5 separate regions of the Homo sapiens genome follow, and all the other regions are linked to region 5. Evidence: promoter capture Hi-C in 16 types of primary human blood cells and fetal thymus (Javierre and others, 2016). All regions are on one chromosome and are shown on one strand. Each heading gives the region's core, a stretch centred on a gene start or on the middle of the fragment in contact. The rest is flanking DNA. Distances are from core to core; before and after follow the strand shown.

Region 1 (4,706 bases), core at 1,503-4,002, 310 kb before region 5:
TAACAAATAACACTACTTAACACTGTCAATTCTATATGCTGGTCTCTAGATATGGCTATGAAAATAGATTGTTTGAAAATATATATGCGTGTGTATGTGTGTGTATATGTATATCATTTACTATCTGTCAGAATTAAGCCATTATACCTCTAGTTTCCAGTAAGTCAAGATAGCTTCCTCTTCAAATAAACAGCATGCCTTTGTCAGCATGCAGTTTATGTGCATTTAATTTGCCAAGCAGGTCTTACTAAAACAGTCAAATCCAAATGACCTTTGCATGACTGAAACACTTGTAGTATTAGGTAGAAAAACTATATAATAGGGGAAATAACACCCTGGAGTCAAAAGGCTTGTGGTCTAGTCCTGACTCTGCCAGCAGACAGTTGACCTTGAGCAAGTCATTTACGTTGTCTGTTTCTTTATCTGCAAGACGGGAATAACAATCCTCCCCCAGTCTCCCTCACTGCTGCTGTGAACGTAATTATATTAACAGCACTTAAGAAGTAGACAACTGTCATGACGAAAAGAAGTGATGAATTCATTACATATTTTTTAAAAAACAAAACTTCAGTCTCAGGCTAGCTTCTATGCATTTTATTAGAAACATACAATAATTTTACTGGATTTGAATGTTTAAGTTGTCACCCAGGTTGGAAGTGACATAAGAAGATAAACAGTAATAGTAAGTAGATGGGCAGAATTCAATAGTAAAGGGCTATATAAATATACTTCAAAAAAAGCAATTATAGGCCGGGTGCAGTGGCTCACGCCTGTAATCCCAGCACTTTGGGAGGCTGAGGTGGGCGGATCACGAGGTCAAGAGATTGAGACCATCCTAGCCAACATGGCGAAACCCCATCTAAAAATACAACAATTAGCTGGGCATGGTGGTGCGTGCCTGTAGTCCCAGCTACTCAGGAGGGTGAGGCAGGAGAATTGCTTGAACCCAGGAGGCGGAGGTTGCAGTGAGCCGAGATCGCGCCCGGTGACAGAATGAGAACCCCCCCAGCGCCAAAGAAAAAAAAAGGCAATTATATAGGAGAAATATCAAAATAATACTTTATTGAGAGAAAGAAAATTTGAAGTAACATAAATAATCAGTACCCAGCATTTTCTCATAGAATTTCCACAGGTCTCCAGCATTGCTTTCTGCAGTATTTTACTCATTGGACATTCTTCAGCTATATAAATAAGCATTGTGAACGAGCCTGGGATTCAACTACAGTTATAATGTTGTATCTACTAGAAATCCTGAGTGCTCAAACCCCAATGTAGCAGGGTACTTTAGGCAAACATCGTTTTAGTCCCTTCACCATCCTTGTACACTGAGACACGTGGCTGAAAATATTTACGCCCTCCTTACCGTGTGTAAAAACAAAATGAAAAGATTCTTTCTTGGCCTTTGACTCTCAGAAGGAAGAACAAACTGGGGTGGCTTCGAGTGAACAGTCTTGAGATTAAATGTGGAAATAATTATAGCACTTGAAGATGGCAGAAGGTGGCATTCAAGATGACAGTGTAACTCCATCTAATAGCAACCATTTGTTGAACAGCTCCTATGTCCGTAGTACCTATGCCTTGCCCTTGCAACTACTACCTGATATAATGTCACACTTAACCAGAGAAAAAGTAGGCAGACTTGAGAGATTCCTAATGGACTTAATCATTTTGTCCAAGAGAATGAGAGATGCACATAATATTAGAATTTGAAGATTTTGTCAAGTTCTGCCACCAATCCTATTAACAAAACCACCCCCCTACAAAATATTCTGAAGGAGAGGAATAAGTAAGGCAACTAAGTACTTGACAAGTATCAAACACTTAAAAGGGCGAGGCGCAGCAGCTCATGTCTGTAATCCCAGCACTTTGGGAGGCTAAGGCTGGAGGATCATGAGGTCAGGAGTTCGAGATCAGCCTGACCAACACTGTGAAACCCTGTCTCTACTAAAAATACAAAAATTAGCTATGTGCCTGTAATCCCAGCTACTCAGGAGGCTGAGGCAGGAGAATCGCTTGAACTTGGGAGGTGGAGATTGCAATCAGCCAAGATGGTGCCATTGCACTCTGGCCTGAGCAACAGAGTGAGACTCCAACTCAAAAAAACAAAACAAAACAAAACAAAACACTTAAAAGGTACCTAACTTCAGAGACATCACTTAATATGTGTCCTAATTTTACAAATGAAGACATTGAAGCTTAGAGGTAGGAAGCATAATGGGGTTAAGACACATAGTCATGTGGCAGAACTGGAATGTGAACCCACATTTGACCTCCTCTCTTAGGTAATCAATAATATCCAATAATCAATAAGTAATAGTGTTTGTTATTTCTGAGGCCCATGTGTAGCTTCAGACTTTTAATTTAAATTTTCTCATTCAATTTTTTTTTTTTTTGAGACAGGGTCTTGCTCTGTCTCCCAGGTTGGGGTCAAGTGGTGTGATCATGGCTCACTGCAGCCTCAAACTCCTAGGCTCAAGCCTTGATCTTCCCACCTCAGCCTCCAGAGTAGCCGGGACCAGAGGTGAGTGCCACTATACCTGGCTAAATTTTAGGAAATATTTTTTGTAGAAATGAGGTCTCACTACGTTGCCCAGGCTGGTCTCAAATTCCTGGCCTCAAGCAATCCTCCCACCTCAGCCTCCCAAGGTGCTGGGATTACACACATGAGCCACTGTGCCTGGCCCACACTCAAACTTTTTAAGATGACAGCACAGTACCTTTCACAAGGATATCATATATTGAATTACTGAGCTGTGGTTCAAAAGTTTGTTCATGGTTTACCGTACAGACATTAACCACTGCTCAATCATTTCTAAAAACATATATAAAGTTGATGCCAATTCACAATCACCAGAATTTATTTTTAATTGTCATACTAATTTGGTGATCAGACCCTCTTCTATGTCAGAAACAAAGGGCATATATGTGAGTTGACTGCAGCCTTCTGACAAGGAGCAATTTTCTTCTAAGTAAGTTACAACTAAATTCCCAGCCTTGGTCTGTACACCCATGATCTAACAACTTTTTTTGCCTTTCTCAACAGTGGCCAAGAAAATATATGCAATTCATAGTAATTCATGATTTGGGATTTTATTTCTATGTAAAATGGGATAATTTTTAAGGACCCTGAAGTCCTTTAAATCACAAATCACTTTAGGGTAGCAGTCTATTCCTGCCAGAATTCGTTTACTGGAATTACAAAGTAAATAACCGTGAAAAGAAGATGGAGGTGAAAATCAAGGTTGTAGAGAATTTGAGAGGGAAACAGAAAGGGAATCATACTGCTTGCTTTTAAAAAAAAAATGCACCAAAGCTTTCTTCATTCAAGCAGTTGGTTTTGTTCCCTAACTGGTCCCCCACATATCTAAGTGCAATGAGTACATTCCCAACTCCTACTGCCAAGTTAAAATGAAAACGTTCTCAGTCTAGAAATGATTGAGGTGGTTTTCTTTAATCAAATTAGAGCAGCCAAATGTTCCTTTCAAAGGTAACTGTCTACTCTGCAGCTGTATGCAAACTACCACATCAAATGTGAGGGAAAAAATAGCGATAGAATTGTGTCCTTACAGTACAGAGCTAGCTGCAGAGATGGAGAAACAAAAGCATTTGTACAGTTAAGAATTACATTCACAGTGAGCTTCCAGAAATATGCTGACTTCACAAACTGTGAACAATGTATTGAAACTTCCAGTACATAATTAGCTATTTTGGGGAGGGGAGGAACATGGGGGGAAATGCCCCCTTAAAAACGGCTAAGCAGCAATAGATACCTTGAGTCATTTACCCTCCCAACCAAAGTTTCTCAATGAGAAACATTAAAAGACTGGCTGAGACTTCATAGGAAAAAAAAGTCTCATAGACCTTGCTTTTTCACTTCCTGTCTCCATCAAAAACACACCACAGTGAGTAAACTTGAGTATCCCGCAAGCTTCAATTAAGCTTGTAATGATTCATTTGCATGCAGAATTTATTCTTTTAAATAATCAGACATGGGAATTTCCTGCAAAGAATTAATTCATAGTGGGCTTATTTTTTCAGTTTGTTTCCCTTAAGAAAAATCAATTGGCTAACATTCCCAATATGATGTCAAATTAGCTTTTCTATGTTACAATTTATATCAGCTGTTGGTTTCAGGGATGGTATATCAACAGTATGAAAACCTAGAAGATGACAATGAATTTATATAGCCAGGTGCAATCAGCAACAGAAGAATGAAACAATGTTCTTTCTTCAATTATGGATCCTCTCCAGATGGTTATACTGTCCTCTAAATTAAGGAATGTGGAATAAATAGGGGAAAAGTATATCTCATGTGATCCCAATATTTCTCCAGAGCAGCTGTTCTTAAACTTTTTTGCTTCTGGTGAAATTAGCAGACAACTTCCTTGGTTCACATGCCCTTTGACATTACCCAAATTTAAGAACTGCTGCATAACAAAAACTTCCCGCAGGTAATAAGCAATTCTTGGGCTGCAGCCCTTCTGCTCCCAACCAGGAAAGCAAACTGAATTGCAAAAAAAAAAAAAAAAAAAAGACATTTTGATTATTCAAAAATTTATTTTAAGAAGTGTAATCAGACTTCCAGTTCAAAATGGTGGACCTATCACAAATATTTGCCTCCATTCTTTCTCAGTAAAAGAAATAAACCCATAATTACAAAAGGGCGTCCCACATACACAAAAAGGAGAGAATTTAGTAAATTTGCT
Region 2 (4,812 bases), core at 2,108-4,607, 510 kb before region 5:
CATATATAGAATGATGGAAAATAAAAAAATAAAAAAAAATTCCTGCAATTATACATCTTTTCTTTAAAAAAACAAAAACAAAAACAAAAACTGAGCTTAGCGCCTGAGAGATGCGGGGTAGACAGCTTCACACAGGGCAGCTGCTACCGCATCTCTTTTTACCCGAACTTTCGGAGAATTGTGTTGTACTTATTTATGCACAGAAGACACCCGTTTGCTACTAGGGACATTTTTCTTCCTAAGATTTGCAGAACAGATGCCTCTGAGACAGCAGCAGGGCACTCTGACCTCGGAAAGCAGCCCGCGGGGCCGCACATAATTTCAGGCACCGGCAGGTGAGTGGGAGGCGGGGCCCCAGCCCGGCCTCGCCCACTGCCTCTCTCCTGCCAAAGGGGCGGGGCAACGAGGCAGCGCGCCCGGAAGGCTTTCAAGTGGGAATCAAGTTTTGAGCACGAGCAAATGGGGTTCAGACTGGCCACTGTTATAACAAACCCTGGGGTGGAATTCGGCCTTTCGCATAGGGGCTTTAACTGGACTCTAGTTCCTGGGAGCAGAGGGGCGAATGAGGCGGGGGATTTCTCAGCCAGTTTCTGACTGCCCCTAGTGTATGTGGCATTTTGGTTCAGTATGAATTACTGAGACTCATCTGCTTGCCACTCAGGAGGAAAGTTGGGCAGGCACCGTCGAGTGTCTGCCACTCAAAAGGAATAAGCTGCTTTCTGTGGTGCTGTGCTAAGGAAACTGAAAAATACTGCAATATCCTTCCCTACTAAATTTCAAGTGACACTGCTGTGAGAAAGGTGACCTCTAAAATTAACTTAATCATTTGGGGTATAAGAAGTCTTTAAGTAGACTTGTAAATTTAAAAAAAGTATATAAAGTTGCCAAAAAACTTCAAAAGTTAAGTATGTAGACACACTCCTAAGTTGTTATGCTCATATACTTCAGACTTTTTTTTTTTAATTAGAGCTTCTTATGAATTTACATTTGTGATTCCACAAATGTTAAAATTACCTGGTCTTTTGGTATTTTAGGGCTCTGTTTCAATACAGCAATTTTTCAGACAAAAGTTTTGTCTACTGAATTACTGATGTGCTACTCATTTTGCTCACCTGATCTTTAAATTAGGATTTTAAAATTTAATCAATGTTGAAAGGCCACCATGCTAGGGAATTTGAAAGCAGCAGAGAGGGTATGTGTGTTTTAACTGGGGCCACTAAAGGAGTTTTATACTTCTAACGAAACTATCCTGTTCACAGATGAGGACTGCCTTTTTAGTAACTAAGCCTGTTTTAATCTAGAAAAGTAAGGTAACTGGGTACTTCAAAAATTTTTTCTTGACTGAATGAATGACTAGGCTTTCTTTACTTAAATGATCAAAATGGGTGTATTATCCATCCTTAAGAACAATTTATTTGCAGACAATTGTTCAGAACCTAGGTAACAAGTAAAATATTGAAGTTACAGAACATTATAGAGACTATTAATCATCCCAAAAAACAAGTGCTAGGAAAGAGTTAAATATGCGCAGAAAAATAAAGTTAGAATGAAATCTCTTTTAGAAGTACCTCTTTAGTCTTCATCAGATTTGTTTTTCTCTAAAAGTGCCACCTTGTGGAATATACCGGAATAAAACAAGAAAGCTCATCTCTTAGGACAGTGTGAATGTTTAGAAAGACTTTTGCAAGAAAAGTCACCTTCCTTTCCTACCACATCAACTTCAAATTGCTGTAACAGTATTTCAGCAGATGCTCGAAAAGAGCCTGTATTTATTTTCAGGTGGCTCTTGTTTTCTTCCTAAGGCTAGACAAGGTAACAATATGTTGAAGGAAGTCCACTTCTACTCATTTAGCTAAACGTTATCACTTCCTGGAAATGCTGAGAAATAGAAAACATTTTGAAAAGCTGATTGGCACTTCATTAAGAAAATAAAAATCCCCAGAAAGGCTACTTGAGAAAAAAACGTGTAAAAATTGGACCCCTTCTGTTTTTACATTTCTGTTGCTTACAAAGGTCAGAAGATAGAGAGACCAAAGGATTATTTTTGGTTTATTTTCTGAAAAAGTACAAGATAGAAATGCTTGAGATATAGGGATGTATTAAAATTGGGTTGTGAATTGCATTGATATAGAAAGGGAGTAAATAAGAAATGAAAATGCTAGTTTCTCATGCTTTTGAGGAAAACAGCATTTCTAATTACTCTAAGGACTTACATTTCTTGGCACACTTTGGTAGCCTCAATAAGTTTTTCCACTGTGGAGATGGAACATGTAAATATCTTCCTAATTATATACCCAAATATACTTAATGGACATGATAAATGGTTTTGGGTAAGGTTCACAATTTTTCAAAAGTATTGGTGGCATAGGAAACACATGCCTTTTAAAAATTTATTTTTTCAATGAACGTTCTTAGGCATGTGTAAGAAGTATTGCTTCATGTGGTTGCCTCTTCCCTTGAAATGGGAAAAAAGTACAGGTAATTTAGTTTGCTTGGGACAGCTTCTCCATAACATTTGTTTTCGACCATATTAATCCCACAGTTACCAGATGACCTTAGTATAAATTTTTACAATATATTTGTTCATAAAGAATATATCCTTCAAAATATATATAGCTTTGAAACTACCCTTTAAATACCTTCATTTTCTCCAGAATTTCCTTTATCTATTGCCCACTGTTTTATGAATAATTTTTAAAGCCTTAGAAATCATACATCTTTATCTGTCACAATGTGAAACATGCATTCTTTTGAATTATATAAATATCTAAGAGTTTATAATAACATTCCAATATTTTCTTTCCAGGGTAAATATTCTGTAGTTTCTATACTAACATAATTAAGTAATTATGGTGGCATATTCACTTTTAACATTATTTTTTCCTAGACTCAACTATGCAATTAAAGCCTGCTTTTGGAAAATGTAAGACACTCTCATGTGCTTATCATAAGAATAGTCAAATTGTCACTTAAAAGAAAAGCAATATTTTAGAAGAATTTTAATATGTTTATGATATTAGGAAGCTTACATAATTTAATTTCCACAATGGAACAATAATGGCCATTACTGACTTTAATAGGCACCACTTGTAAAAGAAGCAGCTACAGTTTCTTAAACACTCACTTTAAATACATAATTTAAAGTTCAAAATGTTTGGTACTATTTAAGAGTTTTCTCATCAAGATGGATAGTACATTCTGGAGAGTCAAACTATACATTTCTCTATAGAAAAGAAACATGCTTTATTTAAGATAGGAACATCTCATGCCTTCTAAAGCTTTCATTTTTATTTAACACAATGCTGAGATTCTATTCTTAGGTGAATAATTTTCAACTATTTTTAGTAAGTCACCTGGGGCTAAATGAAAAGTCTGCCATTCACAGTGTGTGCTTCCTGAGAGAAAATCATGAGAATACAGGGGGCTGAAATGGCCCCAAGCTTTCTTCCAAAACAGGTTCTTTGCACCTTGAGTTCCCATCCACTTCAAAGGAGGGACAAAGTGGGAGGCTCCAACCCACTGGGTTCTTACAAGTGCTTAGAAATTGTATTTTTAAGATTAGGTCCTTTTTATTACCCTTTGCCATGGGATTTCTTATGAAAGCTAAATGGACAAGTTTCTCTTTTTCTCTTTTTATATGTAGGTTGTTTTGACTCCACCCTGTGCAACAGTTCCCAAAATGCCTGAGCCGCCAGAACCAAACATCAAACAGAAACTAGCAGGGACATTCTTGTACTGGTCCTACTATGAAATTCAAACATGATTTCAAATCTGTCACAATATTTTAACTTGCTATGAGCTGCTTCAGTGTAACCTTGGGGCAATATGCCCTTTTCAGTTCACCACTGCTTAGCTTTTGGCAAAGATGTTTGAAACCATATGTTACAGAAGAATAAGCTGTAGTCACTAAGTTCTTACTCTACTATCTGCTTCAAAATGCCCTAACGGCAAGACTGCTTGTGTTGGATCTGGATTTCAGAAATGGCGAATCTGGACATAAAATACATAAATCAAGAGAGTATTCACTCAAATGCAACAACTACACCGATGGAAGAACTGGGGACAGATTTTTACAAAGTTCAGAGAGGCTGAGATGCCCTTTCATTCTGTGTCATCAGAAGATAATCTGCCAACGATTGAATGCCAGAATGTTTGTGCTTTAATTTTTCTTCATAAGCACTGCCTAGAAATGAGTCAAAAGCAGATGCTAGGAATAAAAGTTGAGCTCTCTACTCATTTAAAATTCTAAAGAATGCTGAAAAATTCCAGTTCAGAACAGCTGCATTTTTCTTGAGTGAACTTATGAAAACACTTTTACAACAGCAAAAACTAAAGCTATGTTCACTCTAGCCATGAATACTAACCAAAAAGCTCAGATGAATCAGTGCAGTGAGTTTTTAAATTCAATTTGTAGGCCCTAGCAAAAATGTCTTTGTATTTTGACCCTCGATCAAAGGAAAGGCAGAACTCACTTTTCCATGTGAGACTTTGAGTAGACCTGACCTTGAATGCTGTGGATTCATTATATCTCAAGCATTTATAGTACTGACAACACCTAATCAATGTTGTCACAACGAAAGTAGAAAACATTTGTATGGCCCATCTCCTTTATTATCTTGCTCTAGAAAACAATGTTCCTGTTCCTCAAGCTACTGAATTAGAACAATGTTAAGTAGTACAGCAATTAAAAAAGAATAGTTCCCAACCCCAAAAGCTCTTCAGGAGAAACATCTCCTAGTTTTTTCTCTTGTTCAAGATAGTCATATATCACATTAAGCTGCAAAGAATTCAGTACAACTTAATAATGCATAA
Region 3 (4,827 bases), core at 1,876-4,375, 440 kb before region 5:
TAAACTGTGCTCTAATCTGTTTATTTGCATCAGAGCAATACAAAACTTTCTAATACATATGTTTTTCTCCCTAAAGAAAACTAGTATGGTTTTGTGAAGTGAAAATCAAAACTAGTGATAATTTCACTGACTTTTCACAGAGTTGCAAAATTTACAACTCTGGTGGGCGCTTGTAGTCCCAGCTACTGGGGAGCCTGAGGCAGGAGAATGGCGTGAACCCGGGAGGCGGAGCTTGCAGTGAGCTGAGATCGCGCCACTGCACTCCAGCCTGGGCGACAGAGAGACTCCGTCTCAAAAAAAAAAAAAAAAGAAAGAAAAGCGTTTCCATTACTTTCCAGTTCTCTATATGATATGACATCTACTCATCACTTCACATTTAATAAGTTCAATGAAAGCTAAAATTTAGATATCTCGTTTTTATCCTTAAGATTTTGCTCTAGTCTGTGTAAATCATTGTAACCAAGTGAGAGTGAAATTAGACTAACTTTATGCTTACACTCTATTTTAAACTATCAACATCTGTCTAAAGAGACATCATTTTTGGTTCAATCTTTGAGGAATTCAATTCCAAAAGAAAGTATAAATTGTTCAAGACTTACATTTCTAGTTAATTCTCTAATAAAATAACCCCATCAATGACCTGGGCCTACATTTAAAAATAACAAACTACTGGGCCAGGCGTGGTGGCTCATGCCTGTAATCCCAGCACTTTGGGAGGCTGAAGCAGGCGGATCACTTGAGGTCAGGAGTTCAAGACCAGCTTGGGCAGCATGGCGAAACCCTGTCTCTACTAAAAATAAAAAAAATTAGCCAGGTGTGGTGGCACACGCCTGTAATCCCTGCTAATAGGGAGGCTGAGGCAGGAGAATTGCTTGAACCTGGGAGGTGGAGGTTGCAGTGAGATTGTATCCCTTTAGTCTGGGTGAAAAGCAAGACTGTCTCAAAAAAAAGGAAAACAAACTACTATATTTTGCAATAGATATAAAAGAATAGCATTTTCTAATAGTTGTTTCCTGGTTTATGTAATATTATTCTATATATCAAGAGAGCATCCCCAGTTTTAATTTGTTAATTTACTTGGCTGTTCTATAATTTCTGAACCACAGTCTTTCAGTCCCTACATTAAGTCACTGAAATTTTAATTATCTCAAATTATGACAACTTCTGTAATTTCATAGGATTTAAAATATCTACTGCAACTAAATCTGGATCCAAGTTTTTGAGAACAAATTGCAACAAATTTTCCTGACAGTAAAATATAAATTCCCTTTGCTTAGACATTATTATACTTCTGTGCCTCTAAAAACTTCTGATGGAAGACTGCTGAACTTAAAACCAGTTTAAGTCATGCATGAGCAGAAGCTTATTTTTATTTGAAAGCTTTATAAAGAATGAATAATATCAATAAAATTGTTTCAAGGTTTTAGCTCGTGAAAGTTCTCAACAATATAATCAATTCTACCAGAAGTTCTGTTTAATAATTCTAAATATCCTTAAAAAGAAAATATAATGGTAAATTTAAATTTTAAAACATGTTGAGGAAAACAATGAGTGCAATATATAAAGATCAACATTTAGAAATCCGTAACAAAAGTCGCTACTAATGGTAACAATGCAGTTGTCTAGTAAGCAAAGACAATAGGAATTATGGACAGAGTTTGGTGATTGGAGCCAGCTGGAACCAAAGCAAATACCATGTTTATTACAATCATTACATGTATTAACAGCCTCTAGAGGTGCTGAATGGATGTGGCAACAGGAGGGGGAGCGGAAGGCAGGGGGGAGTTCAAGGATATTTACACAAGTGGATGTATCTGTTTAAACTGCTTTGATCTCTATTCACATTTTTTTGAACCTGTTCAATAATAGTATAAGAAAAAGTACAGCCAAGGCCAACTCTGACTTAAAATACATTTCAGAGTAAACCGCTCTCACTTGATGTTATATTTAACAATCTTTTATCATGTACCCTTTCACCAAGGTCTTGAAAAAATTAGATGTTATCTGATTCATCCTCATTATATGGCCACAATGGCAGAAAAGCATGGTATGAACACTGTGCTGGATGTCTTCTTTTTGTTGCCCCAGATAGTCTCTGCCCTAGAAATGGACCTGTATCTGCCATATGCCTCCAGTTTCTTACTGGCTTTGGCCAATGGGAAGTCTCGGCAGGAATTCAGAGAGAAGGAGAAGCATGAGGTCAGGATCCTCAACTCTTTGATTTTCCTCCCAGCAAAGCTGTCTAGAACTGACTGTGTTGCCACCACAAAGTCAATGTCCATCTCAGGAAGCCTGCTCTACTTGCTTTCTTCCTCCTGGATTCCAGTAACTGCTTCCCCTCTTCTTCTAGGGCCTGGGAATGGTAATGAACTGACTGCGAGTAAGACTCAGGTCATAGCACCATCCCCTGAGTTCCCCTAAGCCCACATCTCTGCAAATCATGCCTGTGTCAAGAAATCCTTGAACTACTTGAGTTTGAGTGTGCCATCTATTTCCTGTTGGGACCCTGGCTGATACATCCTGTTTATAGATGGAGAAACCAGCGTGGGTGGCAACTTCTTCTCCAAGTTTCAGTTTTCTCATCTGTTAAAGAAGATGTTTGGACTGGGTAATCTATAAGGTGTCCTCTGTTAACATTTTAAGACTCCCTAAATGATATGGCAATGGCAATGAAGATTTAAAAAAACATATATACTTTATGGACCCAACAACGTTATCGTTAAATATCTTTGCTGTCCTTTGGTTTAGTAATTACTTATGGAGTGTTCCAGTGTGGTGATATTCTCCTTCTCGGGCCCACTTCAACAACATGTCTCAAATACAAACATAGATAATGGTTTATCAGGAATATAAATATAATCTTTGAAATACTTCAGAATCTTTATTTTGTCAAAGTGAAGGTTTTCTAAACTGTGCTCTAATCTGTTTATTTGCATCAGAGCAATATAAAACTTTCTAATACATATGTTTTTCTCCCTATAGAAAACTAGTATGGTTGTGTGAAGTGAAAATCAAAACTAGTGATAATTTCACTGACTTTTCACAGAGGTGCAAAATTTACTTCTTTTTTTTTTCGAGACAGAGTGTCACTCTATAGCCCAAGCTGGAGTGCAGTGGTGTGATCTCGGCTCACTGCAACCTCGGTCTCCCGGGTTCAAGTGATTCTCCTGCCTCAGCTTCCCCAGTAGTTGGGATTACAGGCGTGCACCACCATGCCCGGCTAATTTTTTGTATTTTTAGAGACAGAGTTTCGCCATGTTGCCCAGACTGGTCTCGAACTCCTGACCTCAAGTGATCCGCCCTCCTTGGCCTCCTAAAGTGCTGGGATTACAGGTGTGAGCCATCGTGCCCGGCCATAATTTAGTTCTTCAAAATTACATATTTAAATGAAGAATATTATAAAGAATTGGAATTCTAATTCTGCCAAGCACAGTCTTCTCATTATAACACCTTAACTGGTTATGGAAACTATTAAGAATTAAATACTGGCCAGGTGTGGTGGCTCACACCTGTAATCCCAGCACTTTGGGAGGCTGAGGAGGGCGGATGACCTGAGGTTGGGAGTTCGAGACCAGCCTGACCAACATGGTGAAACCCCGTCTCTACTAAAAATACAAAATTAGTCGGGCATGGTGGTGCATGCCTGTAATCCCAGCTATTCAGGAGGCTGAGGCAGGAGAATCGCTGGAACTCAGGAGGTGGAGGTTGCGGTGAGCCGAGATCACACCATTGCGCTCCAGCCTGGGCCAACAAGAGTGAAATTCCATCTCAGAAAAAAAAAAAAAAAAAAAAAAAAAAAGCATTAAATACCCATAAAATAATAATGGAGTCATCTCAAATTCACCCATTTGTAATCTAAGGGCTAGAAGGAGATGTTTTGACATATGGCAAAAAAATGTCTGAGGTCAATACAAAGATGAGAGTCTCACAGCAGGGAGCGCTGTGCCAATAACTTTGTCCTCACCTCTGCTCTGATGCATCCATTACCAGCAGAAGGGCTGTATTTCCTCACATCTACAGCTGCCTTGGCTCACATGGGGCCACTGGCTCCCTTTAGATATGTGGATGTCCCATCACCTGCTATTGCTGGTGTGGTTCTCTGATTCTCTCTCTGGGATTCTCTTTCTCTGAGTCTCTGCAGGTCCAGATCCTACCCATCTTTCAAGCCTCACTCACATATTGCTTCATCCACAAAGCCTTTCCTGATCTCCCAGCTGGAAGTAATGGCTCTTCTCTGAGCTTCCACTGCACTTCTATAGTACTTGACCCTTTCTATCTTGCATTATAGCTTTTCCATTTCTTGGCCACAATACATTTACAGTGTCATGCATGGAAGGTGCTCAGTAATTATCTGATAGCTAGATACATCAATAACCACAGGAAACTCCCAGTGGCAGTGCTGAAGATGGATAGAGGCAATCACCTAGACTGGAGAATATGAGGACAATACTGTCCCATAATAACTTAATATCTTTGAGTAATCATGTATCTTTAACAGAGGAAATGATCCTGTGGAGGGAAGAGCACTACCTGATTAGCTTCAGAGATTGTGTAAGAAGACTCACAGGGCAATGAAAGGCACAGGGAAAATGAGCTGAATGGGTGTTCCCTCCAAGTAGAGAGGAAAGGCATCTTGGGGGAAGAGAGCCACTCAGTAAACAGGGGGGCTGTGTACTCGTGTCAGGGGAGGGATGAAAATGACTCACTGAAGGACCAGCAAAGGTAGAATTCAGGGATCCAGGTTTCTGACCTTTTGTGATATCAGTGGCACTTGCCATTTCTTACTGAGTCGTACACCTCTCCCCCATTTTATCTATGTCTAAGCAG
Region 4 (4,467 bases), core at 1,543-4,042, 480 kb before region 5:
TTGAATGTCAGTGATGTTGTCTACCAGTGTCTAGTATTGTGAGTTTAGTGTGGTGATTAATCAACAAAAGCTAGCATTTATTTTATCAGAATAAAATTTTACTGGCCCAACAGCAAGTTTAACTTTTTCAAAAAGCTTATTTACTGAATTTATATTTTGAATGATTCATCATGGGTACTGTTAAAAATAACAAATTATTGCATACCTATATCAAAACATCTCATGTACCCCATATATATCTACTATGTATCCACAAAAATTAAAAATAAAAAATTTAAAAAGTAACAGATTATCTTGATTATAAAATATATACGCATTGTGGAAAATTTGGAAAATAGAGTAAATAGATGAAAATAAATTACACAGCATCACTTCCATTCTTTTCTCTTTTTATATACAAATGGATATGATGGTATCTCTAAAGATCTTTTTTTTTTTTTTTTTTTTTTTCCAAACAAGCTAAGATGGCACCAATCCCAGGGCAGGATCTGAGTCTTGACTATAGTCCTTAGTTTTGAACAAGTACAGGGTGACAAGAAAGTGCATAACAAAGCTATGACTGAATAAAACTCAAATCTTGGTGAAGAAAAGAAATCAAGGACACATTAAAAAAACTATGGGTACACACATTTTCACTTCTTAGTTTATATCTTATGGCAGGGAGCAGGAGTAATCTTTTCTTTTTCCTTTATGAATGGTAAAGACAACTGGTATCCTGTCTGAATATAATATGCCTATCCAGCACACTTTGGGTAGAATCCAATGATGTGTGATAACTCAACAATTTGGTACAGGAAACAGAGCCCACAACATTCCTCAGAAATTTCACAGACAATCTAGACAGAACAGACCTATTTGAATAGGGTTTTTTGTTCAGTAATATTTGAAGGATGCAATTTTTCACGGTGGACACATTGGGTTTGTGACAGATGCAAATTCAGATATGAATAAAACACAATTAAATGATTCAGACTCTTGAACTGTGCTTCCACAGACCTGATTTCTGCATGGGCCAAACAAAGGAAAGTTGGTGTTTGACAACTGTGGATGACTCATCAGAGGAAGTTCTTACCATGTGGATGTGCTTGTTGAAATAAAGCTGGTTAACAAAGCTAGCCTTTTTTTTTTTTTTTTCCCTCTGTGGGCCAGCGAGGGTTTCATTTTAGGAAATGGAAGTGTCAATGTGGACAAACTGTTCTGAAGTATTTATAGCATAATGTAATGTGTTAGTTTCCTTAAACTGCCTTTGGACAAAGAATATGTGAATGGAAAATAAGATCTGAATTTCTAATACTGTCTTGTGTCATCTGAACTGTATTATGAGTATAAAATGATTTAGCACTGTGATATGTACACAGTGTGATAGGAATGTAGTGTAGCTACAGTGGGGTGTGCTAGTGGCTTTCCAATTAATTTTAAGAGCTCTTTTATTCATTAAGGATATTACACCTTTGTCATATTCATTCATTTTCTCCAAGATTATCACATGCTTTTTAACTTGGCAGTGTTTTTATTTTCTGATGAACAAAAGTTTTCAATTTTTATATAATCAAATATATTAGTATTTTTGTTTGTGACTTCTTAATGCTTTGAAAATATATCTCCATTCTAGGGTCACAGATACTTCCTATAGTTTCTTTATTCTTTTATGGCTTCACTTTTAATATGTAACTCTTTAAGCCATCTGTCATTTGCTCTGTGGTGAGGAATAGTGAGAATCTAATCAGGTTACCATTTTTCCCCCATGAAATTGACCAATTACCCTATTCTCATTTGTTGCATATGCCGTTCTGTCCTCCCAGATTTGTGATTTATGATAAATTGCATCACTTCCTAAATTAGGGTTTCAAGTCTCATTCTCTATTCTGTTCCATTAATGTCTGTCACTTCTGCTGGTACCACATTATTTTTATTACTGTAGTTGCATAATGTATTTTAGTGCTTGGTAGCAGGAGTTTCTCTTCATAACTTTTTTTTTTTGGTAACAAAAAATTCTTGGCTATTTTCACCAGTTTAACTCTTCCAAATGCATTTCAGGAAATCCCACTGGAATTCTGACTGGAGTTGCATAAACCTATGAATTAATTTGGAAACCTTTTATATCCTTACAACTATTCAATCTTCCTGTTCAGGAAAATGGAATATTTAATATCTTTCTAATAATCAAATATTCTCTATATCTAGGAAAGTCATTTTTATGTATCTCAATCAAGTTTTATAGTTTTCTTGATATGGGTTCTACACATTGACTTACATCCATCTACATTTTTGATTTTTATACTGGGAATGAGATGGAGCTGCTGCTAACTCTGGAGAAACTTACTGCTGATCTTTTATCTTTGGACATGATCCTGACTGTTCTCCTAAGTGATGGATTATCTTAGATTTGAAAAGTATAGGAAGTAAAGGACAAGAGGGACATGTGGGGGGATGTAGTAGAGTCTGTTTTATATTCATAGTGAGAAGACTCTGAACCTCCCAGGAGGGCTCTAAAGGTTAAAAAACATGCAACCAAAAGCACCGAGGATTAGTAAAAAGAAATAATGTGCAGTAAGTGCTCAGAGGGATGACTCATTGCATTGGATCATCTTTGGGAAACCACCTACTAAGCAGAATTTAGCAGCTAAAGCGTTATTTTTGGTGCACAGTTTATTGCTACTTCCTCTTGGGAAAAAAAGATTAATCCTAGCTCCCTAAAACACTTAAGAATGGTCACCCTGGCAAACCGGCCTGTCAGGTAACAATGTTGTTTCCAGATCAGGGCAGTGTTAGGTTCCCTGTAGGGATTTCTTCAGAACAAGGGAGAAGCACTTTACCACATGTTATGGAAAGGAGTATAGACCAGGAGACAGAAGATCCAGCTCTTAGTGCTGGCTCTGTAACTGATTAACAAATAAATCCCAGAGTGCAGGCAGGCCACTTAATCTCTGCTCATCTGCTAAAAAACAGATATCACAGCTTCTGTCGTACTCCATATCATGGAAGAAAATAACACAAAATAATAAACCATGTGAATGAAGCAGTTAAAACTGCTGAGAAATAAAATTAACCTGCTCAGTAAAAGTAAGGCTACCAATCAAGAACAAATAGAATGAACTGTTACTCGTTCCAAAGTTATTTATTTTTGCTTAATACTGTATTTCCTTCTCCTTTTTCTCTGTCCTGTGGTTTCTTTTCCTTGTTTCATTATGACTAAATATGCAAGGAAAATTCAATGCTGTTATTTTGGTCCTATCTTTGGCCCAAATCTCTAGATTTAATTTACCCATGATACCGTGCTGTGCTATTTAAAAAGATCACTAAGAAAACTTTATAGATGATGAAGTTAGGAAAATGACAAATAAGGGGATAAATGCGTTTCCTTATTTAGGTGAGGACTATGGCTGAGAAGATTCTGTAACTTAGACATAGTCAGGGACGTGATAAGAGCAGGAGCTGTAATCAGTTTTGCTAATCATGATTTCTAAACAATACTATTTTATCAAGTATTTAAATGCAATCTATCCGTAGCACATTTAAAAAAAAGTTATAAGAAATATTTTTAAATTTGTTATTATTATTATTTTTTGAGACAAGATCTCATTCTGTTGCCCAGGCTGGGGTGCAGTGAAGTGATCTCAGCTTGCTGAAGCCTCCATTTTCTGGGTCAATCATTCACCCACCTCAGCCTCCTGAGTAGCTGGGACCACAGGGGCATGCCACCACACCAGGCTAATTTTTGTATTTTTTGTTTTGTAGAGACAGGGTTTTGCCATGTTGCTCAGGCTGGTTTCGAACTCCTGAGCTCAAGCGATCTGCTGCCTTAGCCTCGCAAAGTGCTGGGATTACAGGCGTGCACCACTGTGCCCAGCCAACACAAATATTAAGGTCAACTTCTGGTTTCAGTACAAACTATTTAGTTTATTTATGAAGCAAATGAACTTACAAGAATGAGAAGGCTGAGGGGATATGATTATATATAAGATCCATTTGCATTATACATTCTCTAGAGAGGTACAACTCTCTGTCATATTTTTGATTTTATAACTATAAGAGAAAAATATCACCGGCAAAGGCTTTATGTCACTCATAAGAAATGAAACAGCATTTGATAAAAAACAGCATGTACAGGAATAAATAATTACATTTTGGTAAAAATATATGTTAAAAAAGATAAAATATTTATGAAATATGTTTTCTTCTTCCCCTGAGACGGAGTGCCCAGGCTGGAGTGCAGTGGCGCAATCTTGGCTCACTGCAACTTCTGCCTCCTGGGTTCAAGCGATTCTCCTGCCTCAGCCTCCCAAGTAGCTGGGATTACAGGCATGCGCCACCATGCTGACTAATTTTTGTATTTTTAGTGGAGATGGGGTTTTGCCATGTTAGCCAGGCTGGTCTCGAACTCCTGACCTCAGGTGATCTGCCCACCTCGGCCTCCCAAAGTGCTGGGATTTAGGTGTGTGAACCACTGCGCCCAGCCCGATTGTA
Region 5 (4,617 bases), core at 1,451-3,950:
TGGGAATGTACATTGTTTTAGCCACTTCAAGAAACTATCAGTTTTTGTGAAGTTAAATATATACCTACTCTTTGGATCTGCAATTCTCATGAAAATTATTAAAGTACTGATACAGGCAACAACATGAATGAATATCACATCATACTGTGTGAAAGAAGCCAGTTACAACAGAAAACATATTGTAGAATTCTACTTATATAGTTTAAGAATAGGCAAAAGTAATCTGTCATAGAAGTCAGACTGATGTTGGGGGGTGGATATTTTCTGGGAAGGGGTGATGGAAATATTTTATATCTTGATATGGCTAGCGGTTGCACAGATAAGTACATATTAAAATTTCATAAAGGCTTACCCTTAAGTTTGTTCATTGTATACAAGTTATACTGTATTTAAAAAGCCAATAATGCCTCCAAAATACATTAGAAAATAAAACGGATGAATAAAATAAAAGAGATACTTGCATAAAAAAGATGATGGTGTGTTATGAATCAAGGATAATTGTGAATTCAATGGTATGTGAGGTCCTAAAGTTTTACTAGGTGTTTATTATTGCAGTCTCAGATTATGAACTTTTGACTTCTGCATCCCACTCAGTGTTGATTCAATACTGGTTTTAGAGTTGTCTAAAAACTGACTACACCCTCGTCTAGTAACCATTCTATCTGAGTCACTTTCTTGTATCCATTTACTGAGTCACGTCTACTCCACCCTATGAAAGTATGCTCACTTTTGTTGCACCCACACTATTTAACACATAAAGCAGGGGTCCCCGATTATTGTGCTGCTAGCGTGCGCTGGCTCCTGAGGCCTCATACCTATGGCTCTCATCCCCCATCTCGCCGCTTCCCACCAGTACCCTTTTCCTAGGGTCTCCCTGACTTCCTTCATCAACTTGGACCTTTCACAGTTTTACAGACACAGTCCTTAGTCTCTGGTGATATGTCATAAACTAGATTATGAGACTGGTGAATTAGATGGATTATTTGATTCATGCAAGAACTACATACCATTATATGTGAAAACGTAAAGTCAGGTTCTCATATAAGAGTGTGGGGGATGGAGAACTGGGCCTGAACATTTGGTTGGGAAAGTAAGCAAATAATAAAGAAGTGACTTTTGACTGTTTTCTCTACTAGAGACACTATGAATATTTCAAATGTCATTGAACAGGTTACACTTTCACACTTCTTCCCCTAAAGCTTTTGTCAGATTATTGATAGCTGTGCCTTTCAATACATTATTTTAAAAAAATTGTTGATGATGTCACTCTTGGAGAAAATATATGCCAGCATTCATAGGTATTTATGCCACTGTTCATAGATATTTTACATATTAATGATTTCTTTATACCCTCTCGTTCCAAAATGTTTTTTAGGTAATTTAGAAAGTAATATAGGATCACACATATATTAAAACCCTTAGGTAAAGAAATCATGGGGAAGGCTAAATAAGGGTAGGGGGAGAAAAGGTGAAATGAGGGAGTAAAATTAGTACCTAAAATTACTGGTTTTGATTCCGTATACTTTAAAAACTGACCTGAAAATTTGGTTCTGAGCATCTTAGTAGGAAACACTATTTGTTACTGATTGAACCCACATACATTTTTTAACTCTGGTTGGTGTTAAACTGTAGGGTTTGTTAACTTTTCTAGAAGGGAGTTGAAGGTCAGACCTTTATTCAGAAATGTGATCCTCCAACCGTCTTGCATTATCTTACTGTTTGCTTTGGGGAGAAATTAGACATAAACCTAGTATTTTTGCCAGGAACATAAAGCTGCCTTAATTCCAAAGACTTCCCATAGTAGTCTATCTGTCTGTCTGTCTTCCTATGTATGTCATCCGACAACAATATCTGAGAAGCTCTCAGAGAGTTTTGTTTTCTGGAAGCTACCTATTTCTTAGAGTAGATGGTGGAAGTTGTATTTGATTAAAGTAAAGTACTTTTAAGTTTTCATTGCCTGTTCTTTATCTATCTTTCCGTTTGTTGTTGTTGTTGTTGTTGTTGTTGTTGTTGTTTTTGAGACAGTGTCTCACTCTGTTGCCTATGCTGGAGTGCAGTGGTACAATTACAGCTCACTGTAACCTTAAATTCCTGGGCTCAAGCAATCCTTCTGCCTCAGCCTCCAAAGTAGCTAGACTGCAGCTGCGTGCCACCACATCCAGCTATTTTTTTTTTTGGTAGGAATCTTGCTAGGTAGGGTCTTGCTATGTTGCCCAAGCTAATTTTGAATTCCTGGCCTCAAACAATTCTCCTGTCCTTGCCTTCCAAAGTGCTCAAATTACAGGCTACCACACCTGGCCTGTTTGTTCTTTCTGAAGATGCTGTATGCCTTGGGAGAGTTCATCAATAAAAGTGTCTGTAGTTTTCAACTGCATCTTTAATGAAATGTTATGACTAATTTTTCAACTAATATAAAGCAGACTGCTGTCAGAGCAACAAATAGTCTAGAATTTCTAGGCTTAGAATACTATTTTTTGTTTTGAGGTATATTTGAAGCTTCTAATTGAAAAGTATATTTCTTTCTATTCAATAAAATGCTGCTATAGATAGTAAGAACAATATTAATAATAGATATTGTACTTACCCAGTAGTCTTGCAAATTTCTTTTACATATATGTGGGGAAAACCATCTCTTTTAGTGCTGAAAATATCTGATGTGTTTGTTTTCTTCCTCCTACGATGCTAGAGAAAAGTATTTTCCTCATTCTGGTTTTAACGGAAGTCTATGTATTCTCTGCTTCTGTCTCACAGCAAGCTCTAATTGGCTCAGAAACAGCAGGGCGTGTTTAACAACTGGGAGGTTGGGGAAGGAAGAATATAGGTTTGGTTTCAGTTTCATTTCTCAGATCTGAAATTACAGCACCGCCTTTTCTATCTGAAATGCTTTTTAATAAGCTATGGCTATATACCACCTTCTGGTCTGCTTGGTTAAAATCTGAAGGCTTAACAATTTTTCCTCACTTGAGAGTTTTGAGGGCTGCAGAAAGCCCCATTGTCTTGTTATAGACAAACTGTGGGATATTCTGGCTTAATTGATCCCTTGGGAATATGAGTTTACATTGCAGTCCCAGCCTTGTAGAGCACCAGGTTGGAGATACTCTAGGTCAATATTTCACTGGCCTTTAAGGGTGGAGTTACTGTCCATTCCTGTTTTCCTAAAGTGTAAAGAATGTCTTTCAGGGATAGGACTTCTTTGAGCACCCCAATAAGTGCTAAATTCATTTATTGCAGAGCAGACCAGGGCTGCAGCAGACCTGATGGTCACATTGTAGAGATTTATCTTTTCTAAGGTCAGTGTCAGGGCCAGAGAGAAAACTGCCTGAGTGAGAGCAACAAAAATAGCTGATATTTTAAAAACTAACAGCAAGTACTGATATTTATTGTGTGTGCTCAATTAGCTTTTGGTTTCCACATCCCACAACTGATTCACACTGGTTTTAGATGAAAACATTTAAAAACATTTATTTTAAAATATTTATTGGGCGCTTACCATGTACCAGGCATTGTTCTAAATGTTTCATATTAACTTAATTACTCTTCACAACAATCTCCTGAGGTAGAGATTATTTTTATCTCAATTTTAAAGGTGAAGAAACTGAGGCATAGAGATTAAATAATATGGCTAAAGTTTGCATAACTAATACATGGCAGAGATTCGAATCCAGGTTTCAGGCCAGTGCTCTTAAATCCTGAGGTTTAGGAAGAAAGAAAGTGGCTATGAAGGACAGCCTAGATATGACCATTACACTTATCACCCTCAGGAGCCCTCCTCGTAAGGGGACCCTGGGCCTGAACTCCAAAACCTGGGTTTCACTTTGCATGGGGACCAGTGTGATGGTTAATTTTATGGGTCAACTTGACCGGGCCACAGAGTGCCTAGATATTTGGTCAAACATTATTCTGGTGGTTCTGTGAGGGTGAGGAGGCAGGACTAGCTTGCAGCTCCTGCTGGGACAGACAGGACAGCATGTGGAGACTCACATCATGAACTTTTGCTTCAAGAATTACTGCAGCAACATACCAGGAAAGCCAAGAGAATTCACAGACCCTTTGAAGGAACTGTATCGCCACTGCAGTTTCTCTGAGATGCCAAAAAGAAAAGTCATGAGTCTGCTTGCTTTCTCAGCAGGGAGGCTGATAGCCAGGGGCAAGTTCTCAGCCCTGGTCACCGACTGCCTGGAAATAGATTCGATGTTGTTGGCAGGGGCACAGTGGGAGTGAGACTGGCCTTTAGGAGTGTGGGTTGTGTGGAAATGGGGTGAGGCCTGTGACTGCTGGCTTTTCCCCACTTCCCTGGTGTCCTATGTCACTCAGTGGAGACAGCCATAATCCCCCTGGGAACATAACTCCATTGGCCTGGGAACCACACCCCCGCCCCCTACAGCAAGTGCAGCAGACCCCACCCAATAAGAGTCTGAGCTCAGCCACACCTATGCCTGCCCCAACCTGTTGGTCTTTCTTTACCTGCCCTGGTTGCAAGACAAAGGACATATTCTGCCCACTGCCTCAGAAACATGAATATATAACTAGATGACCCTAGGTCAAGTTTGCTTCCTCCCTATAGTACCACAGCTAATGCACTCTTGAAAATGCCACCTCCTGGCTGGAGGCCAACCA

The links. The method cuts DNA at HindIII sites, captures the fragments that hold promoters and counts their contacts. A CHiCAGO score of 5 or more calls a contact.
Region 1: a contact is called between a fragment that was not itself captured here and the fragment with the promoter of SAMD9 in region 5, in 1 of 17 cell types (fetal thymus). The highest score is 6.5, in fetal thymus.
Region 2: a contact is called between a fragment that was not itself captured here and the fragment with the promoter of SAMD9 in region 5, in 4 of 17 cell types (total CD8 T cells, M0 macrophages, total CD4 T cells and 1 more). The highest score is 7.5, in total CD8 T cells.
Region 3: a fragment that was not itself captured here is called in contact with the fragment with the promoter of SAMD9 in region 5 in 1 of 17 cell types (fetal thymus); the score reaches 5.2 in fetal thymus.
Region 4: a fragment that was not itself captured here is called in contact with the fragment with the promoter of SAMD9 in region 5 in 1 of 17 cell types (M2 macrophages); the score reaches 5.8 in M2 macrophages.

What each region holds. Positions count from the first base shown.
Region 1 is chr7:92,810,043-92,814,748 of GRCh38, forward strand. The region is part of intron 2 of CDK6 (cyclin dependent kinase 6); the gene reads right to left. Among named protein-coding and RNA genes, the nearest start is that of CDK6-AS1, 24 kb to the right of the region's middle. RefSeq lists enhancers at 1-539, 28-137. The HindIII fragment of the contact is 1,118 bases long and covers 2,194-3,311 here.
Region 2 is chr7:92,608,482-92,613,293 of GRCh38, forward strand. CDK6 (cyclin dependent kinase 6) reads right to left here. Exons shown (of 8, transcript NM_001145306.2): 8 at 1-4,812. Among named protein-coding and RNA genes, the nearest start is that of FAM133B, 20 kb to the left of the region's middle. The HindIII fragment of the contact is 162 bases long and covers 3,277-3,438 here.
Region 3 is chr7:92,676,664-92,681,490 of GRCh38, forward strand. All of the region lies in intron 4 of CDK6 (cyclin dependent kinase 6), which reads right to left. Among named protein-coding and RNA genes, the nearest start is that of FAM133B, 89 kb to the left of the region's middle. The HindIII fragment of the contact is 3,494 bases long and covers 1,379-4,827 here.
Region 4 is chr7:92,632,507-92,636,973 of GRCh38, forward strand. All of the region lies in intron 5 of CDK6 (cyclin dependent kinase 6), which reads right to left. Among named protein-coding and RNA genes, the nearest start is that of FAM133B, 44 kb to the left of the region's middle. The HindIII fragment of the contact is 5,319 bases long and covers 134-4,467 here.
Region 5 is chr7:93,115,279-93,119,895 of GRCh38, forward strand. SAMD9 (sterile alpha motif domain containing 9) reads right to left here and starts at 2,701. Exons shown (of 3, transcript NM_017654.4): 1 at 2,585-2,701. The HindIII fragment of the contact is 4,352 bases long and covers 2,495-4,617 here.